5 separate regions of the Homo sapiens genome follow, and all the other regions are linked to region 4. Evidence: promoter capture Hi-C in 16 types of primary human blood cells and fetal thymus (Javierre and others, 2016). All regions are on one chromosome and are shown on one strand. Each heading gives the region's core, a stretch centred on a gene start or on the middle of the fragment in contact. The rest is flanking DNA. Distances are from core to core; before and after follow the strand shown. Region 1 holds the start of HNRNPDL (heterogeneous nuclear ribonucleoprotein D like). Region 2 overlaps UBA6 (ubiquitin like modifier activating enzyme 6). Region 3 overlaps CENPC (centromere protein C). Region 4 holds the start of COX18 (cytochrome c oxidase assembly factor COX18). Region 5 overlaps STAP1 (signal transducing adaptor family member 1).

Region 1 (2,891 bases), core at 155-2,654, 9.4 Mb after region 4:
CACTCTTCCCGGGTCTCTCCAGTCACCCCCTCGATCTCTTACTTTCCTCTTCCCTCCAATCTAGTGGGGCCCAGAAGGCACGCGGGGAATCGACTCTGAGAAAGAATGGGGGCAGCGCGCGGCTCACGAGGAACGAAGGGCGCGTGCGGCGCGCTGGGGGAGGGGGAGCGGGGGAAGAAGCGTGCGGTACCCGTCATCCTGCTGATTCTTGCTCGCGTTGATCTTGGATCCCTCTGCGAATTCCTCTATATTGCTGTACTCGTTCATATCCTCCATAGTGACGGAGCTGTCGGCAGGGGGGTGCTGGCGCGCAGTCCGGGTCGCGGCAGCAGCGGCGGCGGAGCGTTGTATGGAGCTGGATTTAAAATGGCGGCGGAAGAGATCCGGGCGCCGCCTGCGCCCTCCCTTTATAGCCGCCCCGCCCGCCAATCGGGAGGGCTGCTGGGCGGTGACGTGGCGCTGGGCCCGGCGCGCCCCCTGCCGGGCGGAGCTGGGAGCGAGCGAAGGGAGGAGCGGGGCTAGCTGCCGCGGCGGCCGCGGCCGCCAATGGGAGAGGCTGCGGGAGGCTAAAGTAGCGGGAGCGGAGGGGAACAATGGCGGCGGCACATGGGAAAGCCTGGGCGGGACCTCCATCGCGGCCCTCCCGGCAAGGAGAGAGGCCACGCGTGAGGGGACGCGGGCTTGGGAGAAGAGAAGAATCAGAAGAGAAAAACGAAGGGGCGTAAATTCCTGGGGTCAGCAGTCCCGAGCAGAGCCGACGCAGGGCCACAGTCCCTCTTGCCTTGGGAGCCTTTGTCTCTGGCGTCCGGTCCAGCCCACTCCTACCAAAAAGCCGTCAACCCCGCCTTTTTCTGCCCTCGGTTCGCCAGTGCGGAGCCGCTGCGGCGGCCGCTGCTACCGACTAGCACCGCGGCCAGTCTGCTCCGGAAAAAGGCGGACTGCGCCCGGCGCTGGCGACTGAGGCGGCGAGCGCGCTCGCCCGCCGCGCGCACGCGTGTTTTGTCCTCGAGCTGGCAGGAACCAGCCGAACAGGAAGCGGGCGCGCGACGGCTCCTCCGGGCAGCGCAGCGCGGGCGCCTCTTCCACTGTGACCACGGGCGCGCGGGCCAAGGGGGCGCGGCGGGGCCTCCCGGGCTGATCGGCCGAAGCCCGGGCCCCGCGCGGCCTCTGGCGGGCTGACGCCGGGAGGAGGGGCGGGGGCTGGCCAGATGACTGTATCTATGCAAAGGCGGAGGCGGTGGGCGGGGAGGGGGCTGGATTCAGTAGAGGGCAAGGGGCACTCACATCCCCGGCGCGCCACTCGCGGGGCTCCTTTCTGCACGTGCCCCGGGCCTCTCCCGCTCGCTCAACCTGTCTGCGGAGGGCGCGCTCTCGCGCACCCTGCTCCCGCGTTCGCTTCTTTGTTCCCGCCCACGCGAGGCCCATTTTGACGGATCCAGTTCGAGGCCTGACGGCGGCCAATCGGCGCTGGCGCCTTCACCCTCCCCGCCCCGCCGAACCCGTCAAGGGCCGCCCCTTTTCCTGCCCACGTGGTCTCGGGCTCCTGCCCCGTCCTGCTCACGAGTTCAGGGCTCCTGGGCGGCCGCCTTTTCCAGTTCCAGGTGTGCAGAAGTGTCCTCTCCCCACGCGCGGCGGGCTGCACTTGGTCGCTGGCTCCGAGATCGCGCGGGGCCGCCGGAAGCCCAAGACGGTACCGGGGGCCGCAGCCGCAGCCGGCGCCGCCCTCCGCCCTCCCCAACAGCAGGCCGAGTCCCGTAGCATCCGGTAGGGAAATGGTCGTGCTTTCGGTCCCCGCCGAAGTCACCGTGATCCTGTTAGATATCGAAGGTACCACAACCCCGATTGCTTTCGTGAAGGTGAGGGGCGGAAGGGAGCGGGGATGTTACTTTTCCTTAAAAACAGTTATTATTTTTTCTAAGTATTTCAGGCCTTGCATTGGAGACGAGGGTTAGGAGAGGCGGTGTGGCTGCCTCTTGTGTGGAATGGGGAGGAAGGAGAGAAAGCCTGCGGTGGGTTGCGGGGATGCTTTTCCTCGCGACACTAGCTTCTCCCTCCCCCGCCCTTGCGCTTGGTTGGATCCAGATGGGTGGGAAGGGATGGAAGTTGACGCTAAAAATCACCGAAGGGCAGGTAAGCCGGGGCGGGGTGTGACGGTGCGGGCCTCGCCACCCGGCAGGTGTGCACCCGGTCGCTTCCGCAGGTGAGCGCAGCCTTTCTGCTCCGTCGGGCCTGGTGTGGCAGCGGCAGCGATTTAATGGTCCTTAAAGCTTCCGATCTCAAAATGGAAAGACTGAAGTGTCAAGATGACTTTTCAGGTGGCCCTGGTGTCGGGCAATCAAGGTTCCTCTTCGCCCCTTCCCACTCTTGCTGTTAGTGGCCAAACTGCACAGTGTATTATTTTACTCTGTTAGGCGCTGTGGTCCATAGCGCTGATTTTTTGAGCTATAGGACACGTCTAGATTCCGTTCACTTTCCTCAGAAAACCACAGAAGCTTGAAGCTCTTATCCAGAGCATTCCTTCTAGGATGTCACTGTGAACCAGCACTTGTCTGCACCTCAGCTTGCAACTTAGCGGATTCCTTCTTTATTCTTTGTCTGTTAGAATAAGCAAATATGAAATGTTACTTTAATTTTTGAAAGAATTCCTCGGGCCTTGTCTTTTTATTTGGCTCCCTGAGGTTTAAGAATTCATTGCAGATACAAGTACTTCTTAGAGGTGCTTGCATGCACAATAATAGTCGAGATATACAAAGTATATTACCAAGTAGGAAAAATCCATCTTCCAAGAAACTGAGCAGCTTGGGTTTTAAATTCTATTTTAGTTTCCATTTTTAAAAAAAATTATCTGTGAATAAGGCTTTTTTTTTTTTTTCTTTGAGAGTCTCACTCTG
Region 2 (2,722 bases), core at 26-2,525, 5.4 Mb before region 4:
TTGCCACAAAGGACATTTATTAGTAAGGAAGAGAAGCAAGCACCAGGATTTAAGGCAGAAATGGATAGTTAACTCTACTGTTTTCTGCAAATGCTTTCAGGTTTATGATCAGGACTGCCCTTACATATAAAGCTGCTAACCCCTGAGCATTGGAGGGAAAAGATAAACACCAGCGGCCAGTCCTCCGGCTACATAACAAGCAGGCCTGGACAAGAACCCTTTTTCTGGATTGGTTCCATTGATGCTTTGATTCTGAGGTCAGGAAGTACCTTGCCAGCAAGAACTTTTAAAGTTCTTTTGCTATTGGACAATACACCTGGCCACCCAGAACCCCAAAGTTCAACAATGAAGGTGCTGAAGTGGTTTACTTGCTTCAAAACACAACATCTCAAATTCAGCTTCTAGATCAGGGCATCATAAAGGACCTTTAAGGCTCATTACACAAGGTACTCTATAGAAAGGATTGTCAATGCTATGGAAGAGAACCCCAAGAAAGAGAACATCATTAAAGTCTGGAAGATTATACCATTGAAGATGCTATCGTTGTTACTGACATCAGACAATCTGGCAGAAGGGTTCCGACGATTCAAGATTGCATTGATTTCTTTAATGACATGGACCCTTCTACAACAGGGGCACCAAAAAGAAACTAAAGAAAATGACAGGAGGATCAGTATTGTATAGAAACATTTTTCCAGAAATGAGAAAGCAAAAAAAGTCACATAGTAGTTACATATTTCCATAGTTACACTGTGTGTGCCTGCCTCTCTTTCCCTACCCTTCTGCCTCCACCTCTTTTGATTCTGCCACCCCTAAGACAACAAAACCAACTCCTCCCCTTCCTCCTCCTCAGCCTACTCAACATGAAGACAACAAAGATGAAGACCTTTATGATAATCCAGTTCCATCTAATGAACAATAAATATATTTTCTCTTTCTTACATGATTTTCTTAACATTTTATTTTCTCTAGCTTACTTTATTCTAAGAATACTGTGTATATATATATATACAGTATATAATACATATAATATTAAAAATGTGTGTTAATTGATTATTTACATTATCAGTAAAATTTCCAGTCAATAGTAAGGCTATTAGCATTTAAGCTTTGGGAGAGTCAAAAGTCATATGTGGATTTTCGACTGCACAAGAGGTAGGGTGGTAGGGGAGTTGGCACTCCTAACTCCTTCATTGTTCAAGTGTCAACTATACTATACTACACACTTAAAAACTTGTTAGTAGGGTAGAGTTCATGTTATGTGTTTTTACTACAATAATAACTTTTTAGAAGGTAAGTTGGAGTTATGTTCAAAATAACTCGGTAAGCTATAGTATTTGGACTTGTACTATGAGACAAAATGGTCGGAACTGTGGCTGTGTGAAAGAGAACGGAGAGAAAAGAGAACTTCTGGAATTTATCTTTATCTTACCCTACCTTCATCAAGCTTACTGATGAAATCTATCTCCCTGAGATATTAAGAGGCTAAGGATCCTCATTTCATGCCTTGTCCCTAAAATAAATCATTGTCCAAAGTCCTAGGTCTTATACTAGTCCCCATAAGCAACAGATACAGATTTTTAAAAAGAGAAAATACAGCTGGGCACGGTGGCTCGCGCCTGTAATCCCAGCACTTTGGGAAGCCAAGGTGGGCAGATCATGAGGTCAAGAGACTGAGATCATCCTGGCCAACATGGTGAAACCCCGCCTCTACTAAAAAAAATACAAAAATTAGCTGGGTGTGGTGGTGCATGCCTGTAGTCCCAGCTACTCAGGAGGCTGAGGCAGGAGAATTGCTTGAACCCAAGAGGCGGAGGTTGCCATGAGCCGAGATCGCGCCACTGCACTCCAGCCTGGATGACAGAGCAAGACTCCATCTCAAAAAAAAAAAAAAAAAAAAAAAAAAAAAGAAAAAATACAAAACTACCAAATCTTCAGATTCAGTCACTATAAAAAAAAAAACCCTCAAACATTTAAGTTAATTTTTAAAATCTAAGAAAATAAGAGCTGGTTATTGTGTGAAAATCTCACATTTTGGCATTTTGGTCTTTGTATTTCTTTTTTTTTTTTTCTTGACATGGAGTTTTGCTCTGTAGCCCAGGCTGGAACACAGTGGTGCCATCTCAGCTCACTGCAAGCTCTGCCTCCCCGGTTCATGCCATTCTCCTGCCTCAGCCTCCCGACTAGCTGGGATTACAGGCGCCCGCCACCGCCACCACACCCGGCTAATTTTTTGTATTTTTAGTAGAGACGGGGTTTCACTGTGTTAGCCAGGATGGTCTCGATCTCCTGACCTCGTGATCCACCCGCCTCGGCCTCCCAAAGTGCTGGGATTACAGGCATGAGCCACTGTGCCTGGCCACATCTTTGTATTTCTACTAAGAAAACCTATATGTAGTCAGTAACTCTTTTAGTATTCCCTAATAATTCACTCTTTTAGTACCCACATAAATTTCTGGCTTCCTGCCCTCACTATGACAAATTCTTAAGGAAGATATTAAAACTCAAATATGCACATTGGTAAACAACTAGATGTTTGCAATAAGACACGCATACCAAGTGCTAACAGCTACACCAAAAGATACTCTCCGTCAAACAAAAGAAAATGGCTTACCTCTAATAATAACAGCTAAACTGCTATATTCTATAACTCTCAGTAAAGCAAACTGCAGCCTACTTACGTAGCATTGTAAATGGAAAGTTTAGTCACTGGCCTACTGAA
Region 3 (2,700 bases), core at 134-2,633, 5.5 Mb before region 4:
GGATTTCAATCAGTATAAAATTGACATGCATCTCTAACAGAGTGGACAAACTTTTGCTTAAAGGGCCAGATGGTAAATATTTTAGGCTTGTAAACCATAGTCTCTGTCACAACCAGTCGACTCTCCCATTCTAGCCCAAAAGCAACCACAGACAGTATGTAAACAAAGAGGCATGGCTGTGTTCCAATAAAATTGAAATAAAACCTGTGACAAAACATTTGGCTGGCCTATCAGCCAGAGTTTACTGATCCCTGATCTACAACATTCCTATTATTGAGAGCTGGAAAAGTACTATATATGCAGTAATTAAAAACTGTGAGCCACAGTGCATTATCAGGTCATCCATCATAAAGTTTTATAACTGAAAGATCTCAGAAATCATCCAGTCCAATAATCATCATCCAAATAGATGTGTAAAGTTACTTTTGGAGCTTTGCAGAAATACACTTAATTGGTCACTTCCCACAAACCAATTTAATTAGATTTCCTAGGGTGATGGAGGTAATTCTGATGTGCAAATCTAGTTAAAAACCCCTAGCTGAATCCTATGCCCTCATTTTGCAGATAGGCAAACTGAAACCCAAAATGGTCAAATGGCCTACCTCAGTTTGTAAACCTAAGTAGTATTAGTGGCCGGTTTTCTACCAGAATATATATAGGTGACTATTATAAATTCTGGCCTTGACATCACCCCAAAATACCACCTACAGGTGCACATATTGCACAGCTATAAATACACTCCTGCTATTACCTGTTTCAAGGATGAGATCCAAAAAGATCAGATTTGCCAAGGTGATAATGCAGAGTCACTATTAGAACGCAGGTCACATTAGGCAACAGCTTTTTCAAAATTTATCAAATTCGTCTTTTCTTCCCCTTTGTCATTATTACCTTAGCATAAAAGCACCTCCACCATGTGTAGATTACTACAACACCCTCCTTAAGCTACTTTGTAAACATCAAACATCTTTGCTTTTTTAAATGTGTGTGTGTGTTTATATCAGATAGCCCTTATTCCACAGAAGATTTAGGAGAGCTTATTCAAGCCTATAATAGATGCCTAAAGCCTAACATATCCATTTTATGGCTCAATCCAACTCATATGGTCTTGTTTTCCACTTCTACCCAACATATTCAACCTTCTTAAATCAGGTCTCTCTGCTACTGACAAATATATGTATTCCTACTTTGGTTCCTTCGTTAAGTTACTTTCTATGTCTGGAATATACTTTATCTTAGTCTTTAAATACCTGTTCAAGGTCCACCAAAGTTACACTACAACTTTAAAGCTTTTCTTAATATCAACAACACACAAATCCCTAATTTCTCACATGGCTGTCTATACTGCAAGTTAATGCCTAATTATATATAGGCCTACTCTCTATGATACACAAGTCATTACTTCAGTATTGCAAGTAATAATTTTTGTCCATTAAATTGTTTCACAAATGTACATATACATTTTCCCAACAGAAATCTAAGCTTCTTGTAAACAAAAGAACATACTTCTGTGCCCCATTGGACCTACTAAAATCACAGCTCAATAAACATGACGTTATTCATAATAACATCTTCACTTTTAAAAACATGCTTTTCATCCTATTACTAGTAAATATTTAACTAGAAAATTTACTTTTTACAGGTTTTACAACTAAAAGAAGAACCAAAACAACCCAAACAAGCACTCAACAAATGCACGACAGCATGTACTATTTTTCTTTTTGCCCCACTGAATAAGCTACATCTTTCTAATTTTACCATTTGATTCATTCTACAAAATGCTTTTCCCATGGCAGTCACTTAGTCAGAACTGAGACTCCCTCTTCCTGGTTCCACTATTTTATCAGGTGAATTTCTTTTTTCACAGCCACAAAGTCATTGCACTGCTTGCATTAACATTCCCGTTAGTATAAGATGACTACCCTTAATCAGTGGGCACAGAAATCATTATATTAGTCAGAGGTGATAGTTTTTCCTTTCTTCATTTAAAAATCTATTAACGATGAGAATAAAAATAATCTTAAAAGCTTAAGTACGTAAATCACCTGGAAGGTCGACAAAATCTTCTTCTGTAGCCATTTTTGAGATGATCCTGAAAGAAAAGTAAATCATCAATTTGGTTTCTTTAAGATAGAGTCGAGTAAAATTTATTTTCAAAGTAACTTCATCCAGTATGGGCATGCTATACACCAAACATCTCCTAAGGGCTCAAAACAATTTTGAGGTTATGTTATGACATAACATAGGTTATGACAGGCATTTAAAAACTGAACTGCAGGCATCTGGTAAGCTTTATTCCGCTTCTCTCCCCACAGTGAGAATGGCTTTATTGCTTTCTTCTGATTATATATAATGTAAACAATATATGTGCTCATAGTAAAAAGTATAGATTATATTATTCTTTCATACAACTCTTTATGTTTATATGTATAACGTCACATAATGGGAGATCATCGAAGCTGAAGATTTTCTTAGAAGGGGAGATAAATTAGAAAAGAAATGATACGGATTTTTATATAGTAACCATAACCAAAGTATGAAATATAGAATAGTGAACACCAAAGAAGTCCAGAAATATGTAAACAAAATGAGTTGTCGCCCCCATTAGTCATTCACAGCTTGTACCTTTTAACTGATAGCTGTCTTTCAGAAGAGTTTGTCAATAACATATGCTCCATAAATCAGCCTCAAGAACTGCAT
Region 4 (2,861 bases), core at 111-2,610:
CTAAAATCATGTTCCCTCACATATAAAATATATAACAGCACCTACTTCACAGGGTTACAAATATTAGATAAGAACTGCACCCTGGGCTTTACTGTTCCATCTCTACATTTCCTAGTAACGTAAGCGGAGAAAACAGCAGTTTGTTAAGAACCTTTAATACACTGTGATAGCCACAAATCAAAAGTAAAAATAGCATTTATTCCTGCCCTGTGCTCATTCTTCCTGTAAAATGGCTCACTGCCTTAATGTTGCTGCTGATTCCGTTCCTGTTTTGTTTCCGGTTTTTTTTCCCCATGCTCACAACCTGAAAACAAGAAAGCCACTATTTTTGAAATATCCCATTTGAATAATCAAGCACTTTAACCCGTATTATCTGACTTGCTCTGATAACGCTGTGAAGTAGGCAAGGAAGGTACTGCTAGCCTGATTCCTCAGAAAAAAGGATTCAGCATTAAAAGGTCAAGTAACTGCGACCAACCAGACACAGTCTTAGTCGGGTCTGGAGAGGAAACAAGTTCGCAAACTGTTAGTCTAGTAGTTTCTTCCTAATAAGAAAGACCAGCTGGAATACTTTGGGACGAAAGACACTGCAGACATACTGGCTATTAAAACTTTTAAGACATAAATTTTGTAGGTTTCGCCAACACAATTTCTTCTGCGACTGATTTCTTTGTCTCCGTTCCCCGAGAGCAAGTATAGTAACCACTTGTGCTTGGAGCACAAATCCAGTAAGACAAAAGAAATGACAGGTACACGTGTCACAAAGTATCTTATTTAACACACCTAATGCTAGTTCAATTTTTTTTAACGCTAAAATGGTCACAATGAAATGGTCACGATGATTAAACACTAAGCACTGCAGAAGGCAACATCGTGCGATCGAAAACCCTGAGTGAATGTCGGCCTTCCTCCGCCGCAGGGGTTGCAGCGCAGGGTACGCGCACGGCTCGGCGCCCCTCACCTTGGCCAGGATGTAGTGCTGGTAGGCTGCCAAAGGCAGCGTGACAGCACCCCGTAAGGCCACGGTGGAGAGCAGAATGCTGCCCCACCAGGGCAGGCCCGTGGCGGCGTGCACGCCGAGCAGTACTTCCTCCGCAACCCGCACCGGCGAAGACGCGGCCAGGGCCTCGTACCAGCCGTTCGCATGTACTGCAGAGACTGGTGCCACTGCCCACACTGGGAGAGTGGGGCGCTTGGCGCCGCTCGTAGGAACCGGCGCAAGCGGCAGGTCCCTAGCCCAAAGCTGCAGGGCAGGGAGCGGCCGCAGCCACCGACCGCCGAGCCGGCACAGCATTTCTGCACCACGGCGGAGCCCAGATCCCGGGCCTCACAATCCAGCGGACATACACCGGCCAGCCAAGGCTGATACGCGCACGCGCCAGCAACAGCGGGCATAAAGCGCATGCGCGCCTGCCTGCAGCCGCGATTGACCTTCCCAGTCAAGCCGGTGACGTCTTGCGTCGCAGTGGATGTGACGCAAGAGATAGGAAAGTCCCGCCTTTCCCACGCGGCACTGGACAGGCCTACTGCGCACACGCGAAAGTTTCCCGCTGCTAGGGTGTAGTTAGTCCGAGGCCGGACCAAAACTGCAGAGACATGGGTGGAGCCTGCTGCCCTCCGCCAGGCTGGGTGTTCTTTAGGGAGCTCTCGCCTTGTAAAGTTCATCTACACCGTGTAACTTACCATTCTTTTTCACTAAAGCTAATAGTCATTTGTAGTGGAATTATCCTTGCTCGGTTTTTTGTGACCAGAAGCTGATCCCCAACCTCTTTACGTGCACCTGATTGCTTCCGTTAGCGATTACGATAGATTATCATACTCAAGAGTCACACGTTGCTAAAGTACCTGCTTGTAGAGAGACGCATGTTTCTTGCTGACTCTGAGTGTTAAGCACGAGGGATAGTTCAGTCTCTTGTAGATTTAATTGGCCCATCTGTTCCAGTTAGTATTTGGACCACCAACTGCAAACTGAATTTCTTCGGTGTTTTGTCTTCCATGATAAATAGCAGCAAAAATCTTATAGTAAAAGTATCATCTCTTTATTTAAGGGAAACTATCACTGGCAGTACGGTGAATTCCTTGAGTTTACTTGTATCCTATATAAGCTTTAAAGAGCCTGAACAGCAGCACTGGCTGTCTTCTGGTTTAAAGGAATACGTTGAATCTACATGGACTATATAGTTTTAACTTTTGTGTTCCTGGAAACAACAAAATGGAATGTTGTGGAGGAGTTTCCTCACCGAAGGGTCACCCCTAGACTACAGACTAAAATATGTTGTGAGGAGTAAACCTTGATTTTTATTTATTTATTTATTTACTTACTTAGGAAAAGAAGCCTCCAACAATGTTGGGTAATGTCAAACGCCAGCTATTGTTTGCCCTTCACTGTGCACCTAACCAAGGGTACCCTACGATAACTTTCTCAGGATTCTGGAATTCATCTGCTTTCCAAACTGACTGATAAATCTATACATGAATTTTTAAATGTGTTTAAACACACAGCACAACACACACTATATATAAACTTTTTCTAAAAGAAAAACCTACCAATCTATTTCTTTATCCATTTATTAAGCTAACAAAAAAGCCATCAGTTGCTACTGACTACTGTTCAGCTGTTCATAATCTGAACAGAATTTTAAAGTTATTTTTGCTAGACACAGTGGATCACGCCTGTAATCCCAGCACTTTGGGAGGCCAAGATGGGAGGATACCTTAAGGGCAGAAGTTAGAGATCAGCCTTGGCAACATGGCAAGACCTCATCTCTACAACAAATACAAAAATCATCCAGATGTGGTGGCTTGCATCTGTGGTCTCAGCTACCAGGAGGCTAAGGCGGGAGAATTGCTTGAGCCCCCCG
Region 5 (2,700 bases), core at 137-2,636, 5.5 Mb before region 4:
ACATGTTCATTTGTTTTAAGTAAGCAAACAGATTACAGCTGTATGTCTTCTGACAAAAGAAAATAGTATTGAAATATTTCATAAAAAATACACATTAGTAGTTCTAAGCCAAAAAAAGAAAATGAATTATTTTTTAGGCTCAGTCATAATTATTTATTTTATGCTCAATCACTCATGTATTTCCTTCTTTGGCTTTATCTGTTTTTGTCTTCAACTTTAGACAGAGAACACAGAAAGTGGGGAAGAATGGAGAGGCTTCATTCTTACAGTAACAGAGGTAGGAAGCTCACTGCTTTTGATTGATTCTTTTTTTTTTTCAACAAATATCTGCTGAACACCCTATGATCCATGCAGAGTGAAAGTGGCTGAAGATATAGCAATTGAAAAAGATAGACCTAAACTCTTGCACTTACTTATGAACATTATATTTTCATCAGGTGGTGGAGAGGGAGAAAGTAAACAAGTAAACAGATGATCATTTCACATTGTGACAATTGTTATGAAGAAAATAAACAAGGCAATTCGCTAGGGAGTAACGGGTGGTAAAGGAGATCTACTTTTTGGTCTTATCTGTTTGACTCAGTGGTCCTTTGTATATTCTGATATTTGTAGCTAATACAGCATGTTTGAAAATACATTCCAATTTCTTTTCTTTTCTTTCTTTCTTTCTTTTTTTTTTTTTTTTGAGATGAGGTCTCACTATGTCACCCAGGCTGGAGTGCAGTGGCATAATTTGGCTCACTGCAACCTCCACCTCCAGAGTTCAAGTGATTCTCCTGCTTCAGCCTCTCAAGTAGCTGGGATTACAGGCATGCACCATCATGCCCAGCTAATTTCTGTATTTTTAGTAGAGATGAGGTTTCATCATGTTGGCCAGGCTGGTTTGGAACTCCTGGCCTCAAGTGATCTGCCGGCCTCGGCCTCCGAAAGTGCTGGGATTACAGGTGTGAGCCACTGTGCCCGGCCTCTGATTTCTTTTTTATTTATTTAATACATATTTATAGAATACTAGCCAAGATGAATTTTATAAATAACATAGACAATGTAACAGGGAGAGACCATAAAAATGAAAACTCACCTTTAAACATTTCTTCAGTGAGTCTTAAAACAACAGGATGCTTATCTGTTCAACTCTGTGGTGTTTTATCAGAGGCAAATAGTAAGATCTACTGCTTAGAGTTAACTCTTGCAGTAAGATAATGTCCATTATTTTAGATAAAGCCACTGTAGCAATTGCCTTGGAAACATGACGTTCTTTGATAACCAGCCTCCCAAGGAGCACCATGTTCTCTAGTAATTTAAAAGGATATAAAAACTGTGTTTATTAGAGTCAGTTAAACACAGATTCTATCCAAAGCTAGTTTCTAAGTAAGCCATTGCAGTCATCTGAAATAAGCACTGCACTTTACCAAGTTGATGGATGCAGGTTCTTTATTTCAGCCAGTAACAGGTAAAAGTTAGAGGTTCAACTATTGTGTAGGGAAGTTATATGAGGCTAGAAAAGCGGACCAGTTAAAGATGTGAAGAACATGTTGACTTCTGAGAGGGAGAGGAAGGAATCCTGGGGAATTGCACTCTTTCCCTCTGTTGTGGAAAATATCTCTGAGTGGTATGGTGCTTCCAATACCGGGTATAACTATCCCAAAGGTATGTGACTAAGTATCAAGGAGTACACTAAAAACTCTGGCAAAAACTTTTTGCATCCCCCCGGTACACTAAGTATGTATAAAGTTTTGGCCAAACATTTTGTTTTTAGTTTCTTTCCTGGAGTAAAAATAAAAAGCATTATTTTTATATTAAAATACACACATAAATAAGTAACAGAATATAAAATCAAATTTATGTGAATTTTTTTTTTTTTTTTGAGACAGAGTCTCACTCTATCACCCAGGCTGGAGTGCAGTGGTGCAATCTTGGCTCACTGCAACCTCCACCTCCTGCGTTCAAGCAATTCTCCTGCCTTAGCCTCCCAAGTAGCTGGGATTAAAGGCACGTACCATCATGCCCGGCTAAGTTTTTTAAAAAATATTTTTAGTAGAGGTGGGGTTTCACCATGTTGGCCATGCTGGTCTCAAACTCCTGACCTCAAGTGATCCTCCCACCTCAAGTGATCCTCCCACCTCGGCCTCCCAAAGTGCTGGGATTACAGGTGTGAGCCACCACGCCCAGCCCATGTGAATTTTTAAGAGAAGACAAGTTGCCTCAAATTGTGTATTCTGTAAATGTTGTTTTGTGTTATGATTCCAGATCATGGTATATGAACATTTACAGTATGTTGTTATTAGGATGACTTTAGTAGAGAAGTGAGAGAAGCTCAGACTGTATGTAGTTGAAAGAGCTGAGACATTGCTTTTGAATCAAATAAACCCCAGTTTGGGTCCTGGTTCCATAACTTACTAGCTATTTGACTCTGGACTAGCTATTTAATCTTTCTGTGCTTGATTTTTTTTTCTATTTGTATTAGGCCATTCTTGCATTGCTATAAAGAAATACCTAAGACTGGGTAATTTGTAAAGAAAAGAGGTTTAATTGGCTCCTGGTTCTGCAGGCTGTACAGGAAGCATGGTGCCAGCATCTGCTCAGCTTCTGGGAAGGGCCTCAAGGAGCTTTTACTCATGGCAGAAGGTGAAGGGGGAACAGACATATCACATGGTGAGAGTAGGAAAGAGAAAGAGTGGGGAAGAGGGACCACACACTTTT

The links. The method cuts DNA at HindIII sites, captures the fragments that hold promoters and counts their contacts. A CHiCAGO score of 5 or more calls a contact.
Region 1: a contact is called between the fragment with the promoter of HNRNPDL here and the fragment with the promoter of COX18 in region 4, in 4 of 17 cell types (total B cells, non-activated CD4 T cells, total CD4 T cells and 1 more). The highest score is 11.6, in total B cells.
Region 2: a fragment that was not itself captured here is called in contact with the fragment with the promoter of COX18 in region 4 in 1 of 17 cell types (total CD8 T cells); the score reaches 7.4 in total CD8 T cells.
Region 3: a contact is called between a fragment that was not itself captured here and the fragment with the promoter of COX18 in region 4, in 2 of 17 cell types (total CD4 T cells and total B cells). The highest score is 6.0, in total CD4 T cells.
Region 5: a fragment that was not itself captured here is called in contact with the fragment with the promoter of COX18 in region 4 in 1 of 17 cell types (total B cells); the score reaches 6.1 in total B cells.

Annotation. Positions count from the first base shown.
Region 1 is chr4:82,429,058-82,431,948 of GRCh38, forward strand. HNRNPDL (heterogeneous nuclear ribonucleoprotein D like) reads right to left here and starts at 1,405. Exons shown (of 8, transcript NM_031372.4): 1 at 191-1,405. The coding sequence starts at 633. ENOPH1 (enolase-phosphatase 1) reads left to right here and starts at 1,533. Exons shown (of 6, transcript NM_021204.5): 1 at 1,533-1,856. The coding sequence starts at 1,773. RefSeq lists silencers at 1-23, 334-573, 944-1,343, 1,464-1,783 and enhancers at 69-864, 244-303, 624-713, 865-1,660, 2,024-2,123. The HindIII fragment of the contact is 3,206 bases long and covers 1-2,265 here.
Region 2 is chr4:67,692,336-67,695,057 of GRCh38, forward strand. The region is part of intron 2 of UBA6 (ubiquitin like modifier activating enzyme 6); the gene reads right to left. Among named protein-coding and RNA genes, the nearest start is that of UBA6, 7.5 kb to the right of the region's middle. The HindIII fragment of the contact is 339 bases long and covers 1,107-1,445 here.
Region 3 is chr4:67,542,104-67,544,803 of GRCh38, forward strand. CENPC (centromere protein C) reads right to left here. Exons shown (of 19, transcript NM_001812.4): 2 at 2,046-2,092. Among named protein-coding and RNA genes, the nearest start is that of CENPC, 2.0 kb to the right of the region's middle. The HindIII fragment of the contact is 193 bases long and covers 1,288-1,480 here.
Region 4 is chr4:73,068,356-73,071,216 of GRCh38, forward strand. COX18 (cytochrome c oxidase assembly factor COX18) reads right to left here and starts at 1,361. Exons shown (of 6, transcript NM_001297732.2): 1 at 962-1,361. The coding sequence starts at 1,294. It overlaps LOC112268467 (a long non-coding RNA gene), which reads left to right and starts at 1,591. Exons shown (of 2, transcript XR_002959797.2): 1 at 1,591-1,674. RefSeq lists enhancers at 680-1,195, 1,130-1,649, 1,196-1,712. The HindIII fragment of the contact is 3,732 bases long and covers 1-2,103 here.
Region 5 is chr4:67,576,983-67,579,682 of GRCh38, forward strand. STAP1 (signal transducing adaptor family member 1) reads left to right here. Exons shown (of 9, transcript NM_012108.4): 4 at 221-277. Among named protein-coding and RNA genes, the nearest start is that of STAP1, 20 kb to the left of the region's middle. The HindIII fragment of the contact is 7,040 bases long and covers 1-2,700 here.